Regions from separate parts of the Homo sapiens genome. Here region 1 is linked to region 2. Evidence: promoter capture Hi-C in 16 types of primary human blood cells and fetal thymus (Javierre and others, 2016). All regions are on one chromosome and are shown on one strand. The core of a region is centred on a gene start or on the middle of the fragment in contact, and the rest is flanking DNA. Distances in the headings are between cores, read along the strand shown.

Region 1 (6,124 bases), core at 1,531-4,030, 1.1 Mb before region 2:
AGAAACTAAATGCAATGTGGTACACTGGATTGGATCCCGGAACTGAAAGATTATTGGAAAAACTATTGAAATACAAATAAAGTCTACAGTTAAGGGAAAAAAAAATCAGATTCTATGATCTTCCTAGGCAAACCTGATGATAAATTTACTTATTTCCATAAGCTTTTTTGACCCCCAGGGGAATTAACAGATATAGTCAGTAATTTTTATTAAATATTTAACATTCACATTTAATACACTAGCCTATGTATGTTATAAAGCAAAATGTATTTCCACGTTAACATTCCAGCCCAGTTGAGTCCTCCTTTCTAAGTACTTTTGGAAGAATAACAAGTTATCTTTCAATTATTTACAACGGAGGGAAGGGTTCATATTATATATTTCATAACAAAAAAATTACCTTGGTGTTACTTTTCTTTTTAGATCACAAAAATTAGTTTGCAATTCCTTAATATGCGCCACCTAAAAAATGTGAAAGCCACACCAGAAAAAAAATCCACTTGAAATATTAAGAATTGTGCCTTAAATCACCCACAAAGTCCAGAGTGAAGCCTCTAATCCTTTTTTCTCTTTAGTTTTTTTTTTTTTTTTTTTTAGACGGAGTCTCGCTCTGTCGCCAGGCTGGAGTGCAGTGGCGCAATCTTGGCTCACTGCAACCTCCGCCTCCTGGGTTAAAGAGATTTTCCTGCCTCAGCTTCCCGAGTAGCTGGGATTATAGGCGCCTGCCACCATGCCCGGCTAATTTCTGTTTTAGTAGAGACGAGGTTTCACCATATTAGTGAGGCTGGTGTCTAACTCCTGACCTCAGGTAATCCACCTGCCTTGGCCTCCCAAAGTGCTGGGATTACAGGCGTGAGCCACAGTGTCCAGCATTATTATTTTTTTTTTTTGAGACCTAGCCTCGCTTCGTCGCCCAGGCTGGAATGCAGTGGTGCAATCCTGACTCACTGCAACCTCCGCCTCCGGGGTTCAAGCGATTCTCCTGCCTCAGCCTCCCAAGTAGCTGCGATTACAGACATGCACCACCAAGCCTGCCTAATTTTTGTATTTTTTGTAGAGATGGGGTTTCACTATGTTGGCCAGGCTGGTCTCGAACTCCTGCCCTCAAGTGATCTGCCCGCCTTGGCCTCCCAAAGTGCTGAGATTACAGGCGTAAGCTACCGCCGCAGGGCCATCTCTTTTGATTTATATAAAATTGTAGAGCTCTATGACAGGTATCTTAACAATCTTAGTAAAGTAAAAGATTTTCTTGCAAGCTTATGAAATTATTTGGGAAAATGTGTAAAATGTTTCACTAGTAGGCTGTGAGGTTCTGCAGGACAGCCTTCAATAACTCATAGTTTGGCTGGTGATGGAGGGAAGGGAGGAGAGAATGGATAAATTACCCGGCTGGCGCTGTGGCTCACACCTGTAACTCTGGCACTTTAGGAGACCGAGGCGGGAGGATCCCTTGAGCCCAGGAGTTAAGAGACTAGCCTGGGCAACATGGTGAAATCCCGTCTCTTAAAACATACAAAAATTAGCTGGGTGTGGTGGTGCGTGCCTGTGATCCCAGCTACTCAGGAGGCTGAGGTGGGAGGATCGCTTGAGCCTAGGAGGTGGAGGCTGCAGTGAGCTGTGATCTGCACTGCACTCCAGCCTGGGCGACAGAGTGAGTCCCTGTCTTCTAGGAAAAAAAAAAAAAAAAAAGAAAGAAAGAAAAAGAAAATACCCAAACCAAACTCAAACACAGCAAAATAGGCTAGAAAGTATTACATTTTTTTTGAAGTTCTGCTTTCTATTCACATTTCATAAACGTAGGCAAAAGTTAAGAGATCCGACCTTCAGTCACTTACTGGAATACAGCACATCTAGGAAAAACTTACGTCAATTTAGCTTATCTCACTTCAGGAATAAAATGAATAGCTTGCCACTGAGAAGACAACTGAAATATTTACTGGCCAAATAAACTAGTACTCAGAGGCTGTGATTATTCAGGGTTGTTGTGAAATACAGCGGTCTACCAGTGAGGCTCTTCAAGCTGAAAAAATTCCACGAATGCTAAGCTTCGTAACAAAGATTATTGTTTATACGGATCCCGTCCTATGCTTCTCGGGGCATGGATACTCATCCATGAAGTCCATTTCCACCTAAAATTTCCCTCGGATTAAAGCGGAAGTATCTTAGAATCCGTCTAGGACAGAAAGCAAAGTCAACGTTCAAAAAAGCTCACCCATCCTTAAACATTTCTGTTGACTTCCAAATACTCCACTGAGAACAACACCACATGTAATGAGGCCGAATTGATTTACTTTCACGTTTCTGCCCTTCCTTTTCTTAGCTCTCCTAACAGAACCATCCCCTCTAGATCCCTGCTCTTAGCGATCTCAGGGGGCGTAATGGTTGCAGCTGCCGGGCAACGCCGGGCTTCCTTCACACTACCTCTCTTCCCAGTCGTGGTTAGAATTCAGGAACTTCTAGGTTGTGTAGAGAACCCAATCTGCAGGTCAGACGAGTGGAAGGCTAGAAAAGAGTCGCCAACCTGCTTCCTGCTCCCTCCACCTGCAGGCCATCCCGCCCCGGCACCCGCAGGCCCCTCGGGTCTTCGCAGCCCGCTTCTTCCTCTCAGGCCATCGCAGGCCTCCCTGCCGCCCGTGTGCCCGCCTCGGCGGTCTCACATCGCGCTCACCGTTCACCAGCGCCGGGGTCTTCTCCACAAGGTTACGGACAAATTGGGCCATGGTTCTGGAATGGAGAGTCCGTCGCCCCGAACCGCCGGCTGAATGTCACCCGCCGGAAGGACCCGCTGCAGGACCCCGTCCCACTTCCAAGGTCAGGCCGCCTCTTTTCGCGCCGGTCGAAGATACTTAAATGTCCAAAGATCTTTGCAGAATCCAGCCTGTCAATTTAATTTTTCAACATGGAAGAGAAAGTGGATATGAAAAGATGGTATTAGAGAGCATGTGAAGAACAGTAGGATTCCGCAGAGAAGCAGGCATTTTGTGGGGCAGCCACTCGTAGAGGTCCGGAAAACCGGCAAGGAGCGGAAATGCGCATGCGCCCTGAACCTGCAGTGCTTTTCTTGGCGCCGACCTCCGCTATTTTGCGTAGGGTGCTTTCGCCGCGATTCTGAGAACCTTTGAAGTCAGTACTGGAGAAGGATTCGCTGAGATTCTTCTAGTCCAACACGATCGTTGTACAGAGGTAGAGAGGGTCCAAGGCCAAACATATAAAGTTAGGGGCCGAGCAATCACCACACAGGCTGTCACCAGGCTCAACCCATAGCCCTTTTTATTTGAGACAGTCTCGCTCTGTCGCCCAGGCTGAAGTGCAGTGGCACGACTTCGGCTCACTGCAACCTCTGTCCCCCGGGTTCCAGCGATTGTTGTGCCTCAGTCTCCCTAGTAGATGGGACTACAGGCGCCCGCCACCACGCCTGGCTAATTTTTGTACTTTTAGTAGAGACGGTGTTTCACCATGTTGGCCAGGCTGGTCTCGAACTCCTAGCTTCAAGTGATCCACCCGCCTTGGTGCTGGGATTACAGGCGTGAATCACCGCGCCTGGCCCCATAGCCCTTTTAAAGTTGATTTTTTGTAATCCCAATCTCCCCAAAGTGCTGTATCACGATTGGAATCCATTTCCCCTAATTCCCTAGTTAACCACAAGGAGCTGTGCAGATGTGAGGAAAAAATCACCTGTATTGAACGCCCACACTATGCCAGGCATTTTGGAATTTAAAGAAAGCCTGTAAGGCATTGTCCCCATTGAGACTGGGCTTGAAAAATGGCCACACAGTTTGGAAGTGGCAGAGTTGAGATCTGAAGTTGCAATGTATACTCAGAGAGGGGGCATTCCATCAGATTAGGCATGGTGCTGATTTCAGCATACTTCCTAGAAAAGATCCTTGAGCCGATGTGTAAGAGAACAGCTGTATACTACAGAGGGCTGAAACTTCATAGTTTAATATGAGGAGGAAAAGATGTATGTAGGGAAGTGGCATTTGATGAGAGGAACAGAACTATAAGTAATGTAACCTGGGGAAGTCTGAGCAGAAGTAAATCTCCGATTTTTGGAATGGTTAGAGAGATGGAAAGAAAAATTAGAAGTGTAATCAAGGAACTAAGAACTTTTCAATGAAGGAGTGATTCTGCTGCCCTAGATACTGCAGAAAAGTCAAATTAAGGATGGGAAAGTTAATTTAGCAATATGGCAATCTTTAACTAACTAGCGCCTTTTCAAAAAATTAGGATAGAATCCAGGGTGAATGGTGAAGAAATATGGCTGTAAAGGATTACAAGTCAGAAAACCAAAGGGGGATGTGGAACTCAGGGGAGAAATTGAAGACAGAGAAGAGGCAGTCATTTATTTATTTAGAGATGGGGTCTTGCCACATTGCCCAGGCTGGCCTGAAACTCCTGGCCTCAAGAGATCATCCCACTTCAGCCTCTTGCTTAGCTCTGGGATTACAGGCACAGGCCATCCTGCCTGATAAAAAGGGATATTGACAAGAGCCCTGATGAGGCAGGAAAAGAGAACTAGCCAGGGATCTATGGGGCCTTTTCCACAGATGTGATTATGGGAGAGAGGTCTGAAAGTCTTCAAAGTCTCTGAAGTCTTTATCTTCCCAGCAAAATGAAGGCAAAGTCATCGGACTGTGAGGGGTCAATGGGAGGGGGGTATGAGAAGGAATTTGAGGAAGGAGGCCAAAGTTTGGAATAGCTGAAGGACACACAGAAGGGTTGTTGGGCAACGTTAGAGATAAGTTTGTGGTTGTACCATTCTAAAAATTGTGTTTTTCCTCCAACAATGGTCTGCAGTTTGGATATTACAGCAGAGGGGAATGGCTGAGTTAATCTAGGCTGACATCTTGCATGGCAGGGGTATGGAAACAAGGAGCAAGAAAGGGGAAGATAACAGCAAATGATTACAAAGACCTGGGGTTCAGGCCAGATAAAGAAAAACAGTGAAGCCAAAAGAGAGCTGGTTAGGAAAACCATACTGTGAGATTCATCTCCTGAGGGTAACCCCAGGGTCCCCTCCAGAGGCCTGGTAAGGCAGGCTGGGTCAGCCAGGTCACACATATTTGATGTTACTTACCTAAAAAAAAAGTGAAACGTCAGAATCCTCTAAGTTTTCAGGGGGATTTCTGAAACTGCCACTAGCTTTTAATACTGGAATAAAGTGATAACAAAGGTTGTAAGTCAGATGTTCATTTATTAAATACAAGTTTTGAACAAACACTGCCAGGCAAGTTTGACAAGAAGTAACCTTCCTGGAATGTTTCAAAATACAGTCGCGTTGATCAAGTTTTATTTCAATCAACCTTTTCATTTTCTGTTTCTAGGTTCATTTCCTGTTGAGCAGTTAGAGCATGTGCATTATTTCCTCACATGACATCAACAGTGCAGCATCAGCCTCTGGCATGTAAAGGCACCCAGTAGACTTATGCTCTGTGCAATGGCTGCTTAGCAACCACCATCAAATAAAGTAATGAAGCTTTTGTAGAGTGTGATATCAAATAGCAACTGGCACCTTCACTTGCACCATTAAAAAACCTTTAACATTTCCTTCAGTTTTCACATATCCATTAAAAAGTATATTAAAAAACAAAACCCAGACTGCTTGATAAAACATACTTAAACAATTTTCCAAGTTTAGTATTAGCCTCTTGGTAAGTTATGAGCAATACCAGAGCTGAGTAAAAGAGTCTTCATTTTGCTATCATACTCCAGCAAAGCCAATACACAAAACTAGGTATGTTAGAAAGTCTGCTCTACTAGATTTAGAGCTGCTTCTAAGTTCCAGACAAAACACCTTTTTAAGCTTCCAAGTGTATATACACACGGTGTTGTACCAAGATAACTTTTTAAAGTCTAATTTTTTTGGATATTCTTAAATTACTTCACAGAAAGAAAAAAGGCACAGAGGACACTTGGTTTCCTTACCAGTAGTGGCCTTAAGCTACACACTTGCTTGTGCAGAGTTTAAAGATATTCAGCAGCATTAATGGTGCCATAGCCATTCATAAAAAGTTTCAGGAAAAGAGTTTAAAAAAAGAAGAAAAGCTTGCCAGAAAAGGCTTACAATCTGAAGGTTAAATACAGAAGAATACAGACAAAGACTGGAGGCAGCATGGGGGTTGTT
Region 2 (6,513 bases), core at 744-3,243:
TTCCTGTAGTTTTATTTTAATGTTAAATTCTTTAATCTATCTGGAGTTTATTTTCAGAGGAATGAAATTGGATTTGGTTTTTTTTCCTTCCAAATGGGCTGCCAGACGTCCCAACAACAGTTTTTGAATAATGCGTCCATTTTCCTCTAATACGAATGCCATCTCTATCATATCTACAATTCCCATAGATACATTTCTCTATTTTGATTTCGATTTTTTTAACTTGTGTCTAATCATCTTATTGATTAGGGTTTTCTATCCATATCATATAATCTGCAACTAATGATTCCTTTGCTTTCCAACATATATAACACTTTTTCCATTTTCTTGTCTTTTGAGTCAATCAGACCGGTCTGAACCGTGTAGGATAAGAGTAGAGATAATGATCGGCCGGGCGCGGTGGCTCACGCCTGTAATCCCAGCACTTTGGGAGGCCGAGGCGGGAGGATCACGAGGTCAGGAGATCGAGACCATCTTGGCTAACACGGTGAAACCCCGTCTCTACTAAAAATACAAAAAATTAGCGGGGCGTGGTTGCAGGCGCCTGTAGTCCCAGCTATTCGGGAGGCTGAGGCAGGAGAATAGCCTGAACCCGGGAGGCAGAGCTTGCAGTGAGCTGAGATCCCACCACTGCACTCCAGCCTGGGCGACAAAGCGAGACGCCTTCTCAAAAAAAAAAAAAAAAAGAGTAGAGATAATGATCTTTCCTTTCCAAAGCCTGCCTTTAATGGGAGTAACGTAGCCTGTTATTACTACATTTGTTGTTGTTGTCGTTATCTTGTTTAAAAAGTTTCCTGGCTGGGTACAGTGGTCCATGCCTATAATCCCAGCATTTTGGGAGGCCGACGTGGGCGGATCACTTGAGGCCAGGAGTTCGAGACCAGCCTGGCCAACATGGTGAAATCCCATCTCTACTAAAAATACAAAAATTAGCTGGGTATGGTGGCGCATGCTTGTAATCCCAGCTACTCAGAGGCTGAGGCATGAGAACTGCTTGAACCCGGGAGGCGGAGGTTGCAGACTTGAGACCATGCCACTGCACTCCAGCCTGGGTGACAGAGCAAGTCTCCTTTTCAAAAGAAAAATGAAGATTCCCTTTCATTTTTTAAAAAAATTAAATCAGAGTAACTGCTGAATTTTATCAATGGCTTTCCACATTTGATAAACAATATATTGTTAAAACCATACCGGCTTTTCTCCTTTAAGCTATTAGAACTCTAACGCTTTTGGTTCAAGGCTTTAAGCTCTTACCAGTTAATATAGAGATACTTTTCGGAGTGTTAACACTTTAAAGCTATCAACAGCCATTTCTCCTCAGTCTGGCTGATGGTGCAGAAAATCAGAGGAGCCATAAGGATTCAAGTAGAGCCTCAAGGGCACAAACAGGTTCAGATGGGAGAAGACCCACTGGCTCTTACCTGCCCGCAGATCGCAGGCGCAGGAGAAAATAAGACAACTGCACTTTCCCCTTTTGGACCCTGCTCCGCTGGTTTGCAGCCTGGAAAAACTCTTCCTCCCCTTTCATCCTGCTCCCTCAATCTCTGCTCGTGAAAATCCTACCCATTTTTAAACGCTCAAATTAAATACCACCTTCTCCCACTGAGTCTTCCCAGATCCCCTAGATGTCCCTCCAAATCCCTACTCCTTAATGCCACATCGTATAGTGTGAAACCCCACCGCGGCAGGAATCACTTAACTGTCCCGTGTAGAATCACCGTTTATTTCTCTCTGTATCTCCAGCGCCTGGCAGTGTGCCTGGCATACAGTGGGTGCTCCTTCCATGCTGAAAGAAAGACTGACAGACGGGAGGTGTGCCCCTCTCCATCCGTCTGGCCCTTCCCGCCAGGGCCTTGCAGGGCGGACTCCACCTCGGCAGAGGGCATCCCAGACCCCTCTCCAGCCCCGGAAGCCGGATTGCCTGCCATGGGAAGACTACACTTCCCAGCGATCCCAGGGAAAAGCGAAAACCTTTTGGCTTTGACAGCCGCCGCCACAAGTCTTTCCGCCTCCCCAGCCCGCCCGGGAGCTGCGAGCCGCGAGCTGGATTATGGTGGCCTGAGCAGCCAACGCAGCCGCAGGAGCCCGGAGCCCTTGCCCCTGCCCGCGCCGCCGCCCGCCGGGGGGACCAGGGAAGCCGCCACCGGCCCGCCATGCCCGCCCCTCCCAGCCCCGCCGGGAGCCCGCGCCCGCTGCCCAGGCTGGCCGCCGCCGTGCCGATGTAGCGGGCTCCGGATCCCAGCCTCTCCCCTGCTCCCGTGCTCTGCGGATCTCCCCTGACCGCTCTCCACAGCCCGGACCCGGGGGCTGGCCCAGGGCCCTGCAGGCCCTGGCGTCCTGATGCCCCCAAGCTCCCTCTCCTGAGAAGCCACCAGCACCACCCAGACTTGGGGGCAGGCGCCAGGGACGGACGTGGGCCAGTGCGAGCCCAGAGGGCCCGAAGGCCGGGGCCCACCATGGCCCAAGCCCTGCCCTGGCTCCTGCTGTGGATGGGCGCGGGAGTGCTGCCTGCCCACGGCACCCAGCACGGCATCCGGCTGCCCCTGCGCAGCGGCCTGGGGGGCGCCCCCCTGGGGCTGCGGCTGCCCCGGGAGACCGACGAAGAGCCCGAGGAGCCCGGCCGGAGGGGCAGCTTTGTGGAGATGGTGGACAACCTGAGGGGCAAGTCGGGGCAGGGCTACTACGTGGAGATGACCGTGGGCAGCCCCCCGCAGACGGTAAGGTGGTCAGGCCAGCCCTTAGCCCTCCGCCTGCATGAGCAGAGGGGAGACAGGATGGGGATGCCTCAAGCTAGCCCCTGCTCAAATGGGCTGGTGGGGACAGCAGGAGGGACCCCTCCCCAGCCATTCCCCGGGGGTCACGTGGTTGTTGGCAGAAGTGTTCCCAAGCTCCCCATTCCCTCCTCGTCTCCCCTGGCTGCCTAGTTCCCCTTGCTCCTCATCTGACACATACGCCGTCTGGAAGGATTTGAGGCAAGACAGACACATCAGCTGGGGACCCTGACCTGGAGGAAGGGTCCGCCACAGGGGCACTATAACAGGTGTCAGCCCCCTCTGACAGTGGCCCAGTCCGAGTCTCCCAAATCCCACCACTCTAGAGGTTGGCCACCCAACCTTGTCCCCTCCTCTGATTCCCACCATTGTTCCCAGTACCTCCAGGACCAAGGAATCCTGGCAGCAGTTGAATAAGCACCTTGCTCCCACCATCTGGGCTGCCACTGGTACGGCAAAGTGAGGTTGTCGAGGCCCCCCTGACTGCACTCCGCCCGGAAGCCCTGGACAGGCTCCTGCCGTCCCCTCCTCCTCCCCTTCTCCCTCTCGCGGTCTACACTCCGGCCCCTCCCCCACCCCACACCTCCCCAGGCCAGAGGGGAACTGAACTGAGCCTGGTGAAAGAACAAATGGTAGGAAAGGAGCCAGAGCTCCCTTTTAAGAGTGGGACTCCTTCCATGGCGGGGGAGAGGGGAGTTACAGAGAAAACACTGTTATGCCCTCCCCATCCTTCCTGACAATCTCCAAGGTACCTTCAAGGTGGCTGGTGGAGGTGGCACCCTCTGCACCTCTGTGGGTGAGCAGCCCTCCATGTGGGGTGCTGTGGCTGACCTCTGTGTGCATCTGCCGCCTCTGTGGGGCAGTCCGGGCCCGGGCAGCCCTGTGGTTCTGTGTATGCTGGTGCGTGTCACCTTGAATCTGATCCTGCACATCTGTGAGCCACCTCCGGATCTGTGTCTGGGAAGTCTGTCCTTGGGAGGGTCTGTGAAGGTGGGAGTGTGTTTGGGGTGGGCGGAGGGGACAGCCACACTTTCCTGAACTTCTCAGACAGCTGGATCTGGGAGAAACACAAACCCCCACCTCCCAATTACTTTACAGAAGCCAGCCTTCCTAGGTGCGTGCTCCCCAGCCCTACCTCTCAGCTAGTCGAAAGCCTGGTCTTCCCCACTTTCTCATCCTCTTTCCTGTGCACCATAACTTCCCCAGCAGTAGTCTCCAGTGGGAATTTGGGAGGGCAGGACAGAAGCCAAATCCAGGCCCTGAGCAAACAGAACGCTAGATGATATCGTCAGGGAGCAGCAGGTATGCAGAGACCTGGGACCTACTCCTGTTTCTGCGACTGACATGCTGTGCACACTGTGCATGGACCCCATGGCACGATGCAGGACGGGGCTGCAGAACCCACACAAGCTTTGAGGTCAGACAGTCCACGAATCCCAGCTCTACCACCCACAGCTTTTCCTCTTCTCAGCTGTGTGGCCTTGGGCAAATTGCATAACCTCTCTGAAACTACTGTCATATCTTTAAAATGAGTAGGAAATGAGACCTCCTTTGCAAGGTAATTGTGAGGATTAAGTTGTGAGGGTTAATTGTTCTAGGTGCTTTCACCCAGAACAATACACCAGCATATAAAACTGACCTCCAACAAATATGAAGTCACTTTATCCTTGTCTGGCCTGTTCTGCCTCTTCAATTCTATGCAATGAGGCATAAAAACTCGGATGTCCTGGGCCTCCACGTTTTACATGTATAAAACTGGGGTATCCTGTAATCCCAGCACTTTGGGGGGCCAAGGTGGGCAGATCACCTGAGGTCAGGAGTTCGAGACCAGCTTGGCTAACATAGCAAAACCCTGTTTCTACTAAAAATACAAAAATAATTCGCCGGGCCTGGTGGCATGCACCTGTAATCCCAGCTACTCAGGAGGCTGAGGCAGGAGAATCGCTTGAACCTGGGAGGCGGAGGTTGCAGTGAGACAAGATCGCACCATTGCCCTCCAGCCTGGGCAACAAGAGCAAAACTCTGTCTCAGAAAAAATAAAAACAAAAACAAAAACGGGGTATCCATTGCTGTACTTCCCTGATCCCCTGAAATAATGCATACATCCTGCAGCCCAGTACTTAGCAGAGAGTAATTGCTCAATAAATGTCAGTTCCTTCCTCGTTCCTTTCTAGAAGAGGAAAGTGGGCTTAAAGTTCAACACCAGTCCAGGAAGCTAGTGCCAGGGAGCCCACAACTAAAGCAACTGTGTGGCTTGCACTATGATTTCTAACTAAGCCTGCATCAGCCAGTCTCTGCTCTCTGGTGGCTTGGACTCTCTCCCCATCTGTCTGTAAGAAGGACGCCCTTTCTTCCTACCTGGCGCGGCTGTTGTAAGTGCCAAATGAGAACTTGGATGGCATTGTATTCTGAACAAGAAAAAGTAAAATTTGGGGAGCACTTTCTCTGTGCTAGGCAATTAATTGGTGGTGCCTGGGGGCTGATCCACAAAGAGACAAGAAGACATGTTTTCTGCCCACATAGAGTTACAGTGGAAGTGAAAGGGCGGAAGTGACGAGTACAAGGTCATCCATGCAGATATACTCAAAGCGAGGTCGGCAAACCCTCATTGGAGTCAGCTAAAAATGTAAATTCCCTGGCCCCATCCCTGACCTCTAGAGACAGGATCTCTGACAGTGGGGCCCCGTAGTTTGTGCCTCAAATTTGAGAACCATTTATGGCTGGACGCGGTGGCTCACGCCTGTAATCCCAACACTTTGGGAGGCTGAGGCCGGCGGATCACCTGAGGTCAGGAGTTCGCGACCAGCCTGGCCAACGTGGTGAAACCCCATCTCTACGAAAAATGCAAAAATTATCTGGGCATGGTGGCAGGCGCCTATAATCCCAGCTACTCGGGAGGCTGAGGTAGGAGAATTGCTTGAACCCAGGAGACAGAGGTTGCAGTGAGCCGAGATCACGCCATTGCACTCCAGCCTGGGTGACAGAGCGAGACTCCGTCTCAAAAAAAAAAAGAAAAGAGAATAATGTATTTATAGGAGTGCAGAGAGTGAGTGCCACAGGTGTTCAGAAAGTGATAAACTCATCCAGGAAAGCCGCACCAGGGACATGTGCTCTGAGCATGGTCTTGAAGGATGGACAGGAGTGGCAGGCTATTCCCAGGGGGCAGATGGCACCATACTATCCCACTGTACTGTAATTGCACGTTACACGTATGTCCATGTCTGCTCCTTCCCACCCTACCCCCTTAAAATTGGGAGAGTCCACAGTGAATGAGAGGATGAGTTATGGATGTTAGGGCTTAAGCATGGTTGTTTAGGAGACAATAGAGAGCCAGTCCTGTTAATATTACAGGTTTAGGCTAAGACCAGATAAGTTTGGGTAAATAAAATAGAGCCAAATAGCCATAAAGCTTAAATGTGAGACTATAAGGTTTGGACTTTGGCCTTCAGATATAAGGGAAAATCTGAATTTATTGGGGCAGGGGAATGACATGAAGAAAGCAATCTTTCAGGAAGAGACATCTGAATTTTAAAAAGAGTGGGGGCTGTGTGTGGTGGCTCACGCCTGTAATCCCAGCACTTTGGGAGGCCAAGGCAGGTGGATCACAAGGTCAGGAGTTCGAGACCAACCTGGCCAATATGGTGAAACCCCGTCTCTACTAAAAATACAAAAATTAGCTGGGTGTGGTGGCGCGTGCCTGTAGTTCCAGCTACTCGGGAGGCAGAGGCAGAAGAATCTCTTGAAC

The links. The method cuts DNA at HindIII sites, captures the fragments that hold promoters and counts their contacts. A CHiCAGO score of 5 or more calls a contact.
Region 1: a contact is called between the fragment with the promoter of ATP5MG here and the fragment with the promoter of BACE1 in region 2, in 1 of 17 cell types (monocytes). The highest score is 6.2, in monocytes.

Annotation. Positions count from the first base shown.
Region 1 is chr11:118,398,262-118,404,385 of GRCh38, reverse strand. ATP5MG (ATP synthase membrane subunit g) reads right to left here and starts at 2,780. Exons shown (of 3, transcript NM_006476.5): 1 at 2,669-2,780. The coding sequence starts at 2,720. The region is part of intron 3 of LOC100131626 (a long non-coding RNA gene); the gene reads left to right. UBE4A (ubiquitination factor E4A) reads right to left here. Exons shown (of 20, transcript NM_001204077.2): 20 at 5,175-6,124. RefSeq lists enhancers at 1,007-1,597, 2,056-2,919, 3,040-3,119. The HindIII fragment of the contact is 3,431 bases long and covers 2,048-5,478 here.
Region 2 is chr11:117,311,736-117,318,248 of GRCh38, reverse strand. BACE1 (beta-secretase 1) reads left to right here and starts at 1,993. Exons shown (of 9, transcript NM_012104.6): 1 at 1,993-2,714. The coding sequence starts at 2,454. RefSeq lists silencers at 2,265-2,354, 2,445-2,554 and enhancers at 3,083-3,604, 3,605-4,127. The HindIII fragment of the contact is 5,304 bases long and covers 1-4,180 here.